Linked DNA regions of Homo sapiens: region 1 is linked to region 2. The links are contacts of gene promoters, found by promoter capture Hi-C in human tissues and cell types (Jung and others, 2019). All regions are on one chromosome and are shown on one strand. The core of a region is centred on a gene start or on the middle of the fragment in contact, and the rest is flanking DNA. Distances in the headings are between cores, read along the strand shown. Region 1 has its middle 16 kb from the start of TRIM29. Region 2 holds the start of POU2F3 (POU class 2 homeobox 3).

Region 1 (4,247 bases), core at 482-2,981, 86 kb before region 2:
AAATTATATAAATAAATAAATAAATAGAACAAGTTTTTTTTAAGGAAGTCTGATATACTGATTTTTTTTTTCTTTAAGGTTTGTGCTTTCTATGTCCTATCTAAGAAATTTCTATGTTTGCTTCAGTGTGCGGTTGGTATAGATAGAGCTGTTATGCATAACAGGTTATAAAGATTTTAGGTTATAAAGATTTTAAATCTTAGATCCACTATTTCAAGTTAATTGTTGTTTATGATGTGAGATAAGGGCCATTTTTTTTCTTGTATATGGATACCCAATTGTTCCAGCACCATTTGTTGAAAAAACTATCATTTCCCCCGTTGAATTACCTTGGCACCTTTGTGAAAAATCAGTTATCTACATATATATAAATCTATTTCTGGACTCTCTATTCTGTTCAGTGATCTAAATGTTTACTTTATTCCATAATACACTATCTAATTACTACTACTTTGTTGTAAGTCTTAAAAATCAGGTAGTAAGTCCTCCAAGCTTGGTCTTCGTTTTTCATAATTTTTTGTACCTATTATGATCCATGGCATTTCCATATGAACTTTAGGATCAGATTACAAAATTCTTCAAAAATCTGCTCTGATTTTGACTGAGAGTACATTAAATCTGAAGATCAATTTGGGGAGAATTGACAGCTTAACAATAGCAAGTCTTAATAATATCAATACATACCATGAACATGGTATGTTTCTCTATTTATTTAGATCTTCTTTAACTTCTCCCAGCAGTTTTGTAGTTTTTAGTGTACTATACAAATTTTTGCTAATTTACTCTTAACTAGTTCATGTTTTCATGCCATCATAAATGTTATTTTCCATTTAAATTCCAATTGTTAGTTTCTAGTATATAGAAATACAATTAGGCCAGGCACAGTGGCTCACACTTGTAATACTAGCATATTAGGAGGCCAAGGTGGCAACTCCAGCTAGAGGCCAGGAATTTGAGAACAGCCTGGGTAACGTAGCAAGACCCTGTCTCTACAAAAAATTTAAAAATAAAAAAGTCAGTCAGGTGTGGTGGCACAGGCCTGTAGTCACAGCTACGTGGCAGGCTAAGGTGGGAGGATTGCTTAAGCCCAGGAGCTTAAGGCTTCAGTGAGTCATGATTGTGCCACTGCACTCCAGCCTGGGTGACAGACTGAGGCTCCCTCTCAAAAATAATAATAATAATAATTAATTTTTGTGTATTGAACCCATATCCTGCAACATTGCTAAACTCATTTATTAACTGTAGTGTCTTAGCTTGCTTGTGGATTTCCTAAGATTTTCTAGAGAGAAAATTATATTGTTTATAAATAAAAACAATTTTGAATCTTCTCATCTGTGCCTTTTTTCTTTTTCTTGAATTCTTGCACTGGCTAGGACCTCCAGTACACTGTCGAATAGAAATAGTTATAACAGACTTACTTGCTTTGTTCCTAATCTGAGAGGAAAAACATCCCATTTTTCACTACTAAGTATAATGTCAATTGTAGGGTATTTTTAAATAGATGCCCTTTTCCAGATTGTGTAAGTTCCCTTGTATCCCTAATTTGCTAAGATTTTATCATGAATCTTGATAAATTTGTCTTGTTGAATTTTGTCAAAAGCTTTCCCTGAATCTACTGACATGATCATGTTTTTTTCCTTTTTAGATCTGTTTATATGATACATTCATTTTCTATTGCTGCCGTAACAAGCTTAGTGGCTTAAAACAACACAAATTTATTATCTTATAGTTTTGGAGGTCAGAAGCCCAAAATGGGCTAAAATCAAGATGTTGGCAGGGCTGCATCTTTTCTGAAGGCTCTAGAAGATAACCCGTTTCTTTGCCTTTTCCAGCTTGTAGAGGCTGCACATGTTCCCTGGCTCATGACTTTTTCCATCTTCAAAGCCAGCATTTATATCACTCCAATCTCTGCTTCTGTCATGACACATCTTTTTGTCTGACTCTCCTGCCTCCCTCTTTTAGGTACAAGGATCTTTGTGATTACATTGGGCCCATCCTGATAATCCAGAATAATCTCCCATCTCAAAATCCTTAACAATCATATCTGCAAAATATCTTTTGCTACATAAAGTAGTATATTCACAAGTTCTGTGGATTAGGACATAGATATTATGACTACCACATATGATAAATTATAGATTGACTTTTTAAAAATTGTGGTTAAAAACACATAACACTTACCATTTATCATTTTTGAGTATACAGTTCAGTAGTGTTAACTACATTCACATTGTTGTATAACAGATCTCTAGAAGTTTTTCATCTTGCAAAACTAAAACTCTATACCCATCAAACAACAACTCCCCATTCCCCCTTCCCAACTCGACGAAACCACCATTCTACTTTCTGTTTTCATGACTTTGACTACTTTAAATATCTCATATAAGTGGAATCATACACTATTTGTCCTATTACGACTGCTTATTTTACTCAACAGAGTGTCTCCAAGGTTCATTCAAGTTGTATATAAATTGACTTGTGAAACTAAAAGTAGATCTACCATTCAATCCAGCAACCCTACTACTGGGTAACTACCCAGAGAAAAAGAAGTCATTATACAAAAAAGACACACACATACATGCAGGCATACTCACGCTGATAGCAGCACAATTTACAATTGCAAAGATATGGAATCAATCTAAGTGCCCATAGACCAATGAGTGGATAAAGAAAATGTGATGTGCATACACTGTGGAATGCTACTCAGCCATAAAAAGGAAAGAAATAATGTCTTTTGCAGCAATTTGGATGGAACTGGAAGCCATTATTCTAAGAGAAATGACTCAGGAATGGAAAACCAAATACTGTATATCCTTACTTGTAAGTGGGAGCTAAGCAATGAGGATGCAAAGACATACAGAGTGATATAATGAACTTTGGGGATTTGTGGGTGGGGAGGTTGGGAGCGAGGTGAGGGATAAAAGACTTCATACTGGGTACAGTTACACTGCTCAGGTGATGGGTGCACTAAAATCTCAGAATTCACCACTATAGAATTCATCCATGTAGGTAAAAACCACTTGTACCCCCAAAGCTATTTAAATAAAATAAATAAATAAAGATTTTAAAACTTAAAAAAACTGACTTTTGAATGTTAAGCCAACCTTGAATTCCTAGGATAAATCCCATTTGATCACACTTTGTTATTCTTTGTATATATTGCTGATTTTTTTTCTGCTAAAATTCTGTTTAGAAATGTTTCCTCCCCGTCTCTTTTCTGCAACAGTTTTTGTAGAATTGGTATTTTTTTAAAAATGTTTAGCATCCCAGAAATGGCTTGTACTGGCCCATGACAATGTACTTTCAAATTCTCAGAAATTTTGTAAGCCAGCTGTTAAATACAGCCAGTATTAAAAATTAAATAAATTATGTTAAAAGCAAAAGTAATCCATATGGAATGAATACTTATCATATCTTAAATATTTTGCTACATTTTATTAATATCAATGCTATTAGGATATTTATGACTTTCATTTATATGGTATTATCTTTATATATATTTGTGCATATATATGCACATCTCTTTTTATCTCCATGATGATTGACATCACATTGGTAGCATGAAATTGACCATAGCGGGAATATTTACACTATGGAAAGTGGCAAATGCTACAAAACAGGTTGTTGTTTTTTCTAGAGTGCCAGGTGTAAAACATTTACCAATACACCTGGGGGTAGAATGCACTCGTGAAACCACTTGATCCTGGAGTTTTCTTTATGAAAAAGGTTTCACTTTTTAAAAACTATGAATGTAATTCCTTTAACAGACATAAGATATTCAAATTATTTCTTATTGAATGACCTTCATAGTTTGTGTTTCAAAGATTATGTCCATTTTATCATCTAAGTCACTGAATTTATTGGCATGTAGTTGTTTATAATATCTCCTTAGGTTTTTTTCAATGTTTGTAGGATCTGTAGTGATATCCTTGCTTTCATTCCTGATATTGGTAATTTGTGTCTTTTCTCTTTTTTTCTTGATCAGTCAGGTTAGAGTTTTATCAATTGTATTGATCTTTTCTGTGGTGTAAGAACTAAAATTAAGGTTCAATATTATGTGCTACCTTGACACCTGATGAAAACAGGAGGGCCTCATCTAGCCTAGCCCCAAGTTCCTCATTCCACTCTGCTCCTAACCCCTAGCCAAATCCTCTTAATAAAGAGAACCAGGTGCAGTTAAACAAGGCAATCACAGCCTCCTGCAGGAACCATGGGCCACCCCATTCTCTTAGTGCTACAGCCTGGCC
Region 2 (4,186 bases), core at 1,416-3,915:
CCAGAACCCCAGAATCCTAGGCTGCTGGAGACAGAAGGCCCTTTGAAATTATCAAATATGGGCCTCTCTGACTTTTGGAAAACTAAAGCCCAGAGAAGAAATGTGACTTTGCACATGAAAAAGGGCAACGGGCCCCAGATAAGGTGGTCGGAGAATGAGACCCTCGGTGCACATGGCCATGCAAATAATATGCAAATAGAGATATGGAAATCACAAGCACACAGGGGTATATAAGCTGTGTGCAGGCATTTTTCCAGAATGGTGGTAGGTGAGTGCAGTTGTAGGTAAGAAATGGACTTCAGGGAAGGGGCCAAACCTGAAGTTGGGGAGGAGAAGAAAAGGCCAGAAGGGGATGGGAGTTGGGGGAGTGTTGAATAGGAGGGAAGGAAGGAACAGAGGCTGAGAGTGTCCTGAGAGGGACCCCCTTGGGCCTCCAATAAGCCCTTGCTGGTCTCTTTCCTCACCCAGAAGAAACAAGAAAAAGTGCAGGGGACGGTGGCTCACACCTGTAATCCCAGCTCTTTGGGAGGCCGAGGCAGGCAGATCACCTGAGGTCAGGAGTTTGAGACCAGCCTGACCAACATGGAGAAACCCCGTCTCTACTAAAAATACAAAATTAGCCGGGCATGGTGGCGCATGCCTGTAATCCCAGCTACTCGGGAGGCTGAGGCAGGAGAATCGCTTGAACCTGGGAGGCGGAGATTGCCGTGAGCCGAGATGATGCCATTGCACTCCAGCCTGGGCAACAAGGTAGAAACTCCATCTCAAAAAAGAAAAAGAAAAAGAAGCAAGAAGAAGTTTCTCTCCTCCCTTCTTTTCGGGAGCGTGGGGAAGGGAGGTCCATGTGACTGGGGAGGGTGGTGTATGTGGACCTGAAGAAGCAATTAAGTGCTTCCTGTTCCTCTGGGGCCACTGTAGCACCCACAGAACACTTTCTGATACCTGTTGTGTGCCCAGCCCTGTTCTAGGTGCTGGGGTGCTGGCACTAGAATGAAGCAATTGATCAGTTACCAACCAGGGGGTAAGCTAAGAAAAGGCCCTCAGAACCTGCCACGAAGGCTGTTAAGAACATGGAACTTAGGCTGGGCGTGGTGGCTCACACATGTCATCCCAGCACTTTGGGAGGCTGAGGCGGGTGGATCACGAGGTCAGGAGATCGAGACCATCCTGGCAACGTGGTGAAACCCTGTCTCTCCTAAAAACACAAAAATTAGCTGGGTGTAGTGGCACGTGCTTATAGTCTCAGCCACTCAGGAGGCTGAGGAGAATCGCTTGAACCCAGGAGGTGGAGGTTGCAGTGAGCCGAGATTGCACCACTGCACTCCAGCCTGGCAACAGAGCAAGACTCTGTCTAAAAAAAAAAAAAAAAAAAAAAAAAAAAGAACACGGAACTTAAACTCTCTAAGCCTCATTTTCCCCATCTATAAAATGGCAATAATCATAGTACAATGTACAGGTTTTGAGGACTAAACAAGAACTAAAGGCACGAAAGATGCCTTTCAAGTGTTGGTCACCCCAGTGCTTGATACACAGTGAAGGCACACGAAATGCTGGGTGTTATCGTGGGCATGACTGGAGTGCACGGTGGGATGGGCGTGCCAGGGGGAAAGGACACTGTAAACAAGGTGTAGAGGCAGGAAAGCCCAAAACCTGTTCTGTGCTCAGAAAGTAGCCCATGGGACTAAGGAGAAGACATGTTCATGAGGAGTCCTGTCTGGGAAGGAAAGCGAGGCCCTGCCCTCCTGTCTGCACACAGCTTTCTGGGCTTCCATGCAGGCCATCCTGTGGTGACAGACCACTTACTGGGACTTGAAGAGACGAAGAGAAAGGGGTGAGCCTATGATGGGTGCTGCAAAGAGCACTGGAGTGGGAGTCCAGAGACCTGATTCCAGCCAGGCTCTGTCACTAGGGAAGTGTGCACCTTTGAGCAAGCCGCTTCCCCGCTCTGGAAGGTGGCTGTCACCAAAAGCCTGGGCACTGGTAACTTCCACATCCATCATCTCGTAGAGCCTCACAGCAACCTGGGACCTGGGGCGGGAGACTGGAGGGGCAAGCAGGAAGCAGTTGTGTGCACCTGGAAACTCTGCTAATAATAAACTGCACCCCGTCTAAATCCCACAATGCTGTGAGGATGCCATGGGGGCTAGGTGAGCTTGGTCACCTGCTCAGCCCAATAGGGAACCCGATTAGCACCTGTCCTGTTTTACAGGTGAGTTAAATGAGCTCAGGGAGGTGAAGAACCTTGTCCCAGCCACACTGCTGGTAAGCGGTTGGGAGGCGAGATTCCAAAACTGAATTCTTTCCAGCAGACCCCCGCGACTTCTCCAAACACTCCAACTCCTTGCAGCGCTTACACTTCGCGATCTGTCCAGAAGGAAGCTCGGGCTCAGGCTGGAGAACCCGCCAGGGCTTCCTAAAAAGGGCGAGCAGGACCAGGAGTTGGCGCCACTCCGGGCGCGGTGAGGAGGTGCTGCCAGGCTGGGTTGGAGCAGGCAGGTGTTCCGCGGGATCGAGACCCGCCCCGGCAGCACCCCCGGCCCCCTCCCCAGGTCCCCAGCTCCATGTATGCAAATCACTGCTTTGCATGGGCCTGGGGCCAGGCGCGGGGCTCCTGCCAGGGGGCGTGGCCGGCGGCCCCCGCCCCGCGCCGCGTGCTCACCTGGGGAGTGTGGCAATCCTGGCGGCGCCGAGTGTTGCCCGGGCCGGAGCAGCGGAGCGCGCGACAGTGGCGGCGACGGCTCCGGCAGCGGCTCCCGCGGCGGCGGCGGCCGGGAACTGGAGGAAGGAGACCCTGGCTTCGCAGGGGCCCCGGCTGGGGCAGAGGCGAGGGGCCTGGGGGGGCGCTGGCTTTGGCCCCGCCTGGGGCAGGATGGTGAATCTGGAGTCCATGCACACAGGTGAGGGGCGGAGGGAATGAGCTCTGACAGGTGTCACTGCGCGTGGGCAGGGGTGAAGGAGAGGGACAACGTTCTGGTTAGGGAGGGGGGCTTGTTTCCCAGCGGCCAGGAGAGGGCGGTGTGGATAGCGGGTTGTCCTGGGGTGGGTGCCGGTCAGTATTTGGGGACTAAAGGGAGGGGATCTGGGATAAGAAACCCTGGAAAAGAATGAGGGTGGGGGCTGGTGAAGGGCGGGAGGGCTTCGAAGCCCCCGGTCTGGGGAGTGGCAGTTGTATGGGACGTGGGTGTACTGAACTGTCATAGTCTCAGGAGGTTGCAGGGATGGGTGGTTCACTCACTCAGCCAGGGGTGTGGACCTGGGAGTGCATAAGTGAGGGAAATGTGTATGTCCACATGCTGTGTGCTGGTGTCCGGGCATATGTGTGAAATGGAGGCAAAGCGGACATTTAGGTGGTTGGGGGGCTTAGGAGAAGTGGCTGAGGTGGGGCAATTACAGAGGTGCCCCTGGGGCAGGGGCCATGCCCCCATGTGTTTGAGAAGGGATGGTGACAGACACATCCTCTGGGTTCCATGTCCCATGCCTTCCTTCCCTAAGGGGTGGAAACCTAGGAGATGCAAATGCTTTGCCGGGAGTCAGGCTTCCCTGAATGAATGAATGAGAGGTGGGCATGGAGGGAACCCAGCCCCTCCATTCACCTTGCTGTTCCTCCTTCCACAGCTGGGCTAAGGCAGGAGCTGCCAGGCAGCCAGGTTGGGCTTGGCTTGGGGCTTCCTGTTAGGGTGGGCCTTCTGGAGGTCACAGGGCCTGAGCAAAGAACAAGTGAAGAAAGCGGTACCTGACCTGGCCATTTCTAACCTAGCAACTTACTCTCAAAGTGGGCAGGACCCAGTGATCTTTCTTTAGGATTTCGGGGCTGTTGATGGGAATGTTGTTACCTGGTCTCCTTTCTGGGAGAGTAGGGAGGAGGCAATGCTCCAGACCCACCCCAAGAAGCAGAGCAGGCCTGAGGCCTACCCAGCCTGAAAACAAGCGTCAGTGAGTGCCCGGAGGGAGGGGACCTGGAGTGCCCAGTTCCCCAGATGCTGTTTCCTGGCAGGGCTGAGTGAGAGGCAGACTGGCAGTGAGATGTTGGCACTGAGTGGCTCTCCAGGACGTGCCAGAAAGGCTAGGTGAGGCGGAAGAAGCCATCCAACTGGGTGTCATCCAGAGTCTGAGGAAAGTCTGTTTCTAGACTGGGCATACCTGGGGCAGATCCCCGGGTAGGTGCTCTCCCCTTCACTGCCCGCAG

Evidence for each region. Contacts are between HindIII fragments. The study calls those that stand out against the background at their distance.
Region 1: a fragment that was not itself captured here is called in contact with the fragment with the promoter of POU2F3 in region 2 in 2 of the 25 tissues and cell types used here (dorsolateral prefrontal cortex and hippocampus).

What each region holds. Positions count from the first base shown.
Region 1 is chr11:120,152,353-120,156,599 of GRCh38, forward strand. No RefSeq gene overlaps it. Among named protein-coding and RNA genes, the nearest start is that of TRIM29, 16 kb to the left of the region's middle. The HindIII fragment of the contact is 4,875 bases long and covers 1-4,169 here.
Region 2 is chr11:120,237,475-120,241,660 of GRCh38, forward strand. It overlaps POU2F3 (POU class 2 homeobox 3), which reads left to right and starts at 2,666. Exons shown (of 13, transcript NM_014352.4): 1 at 2,666-2,897. The coding sequence starts at 2,870. The HindIII fragment of the contact is 19,243 bases long and covers 1-4,186 here.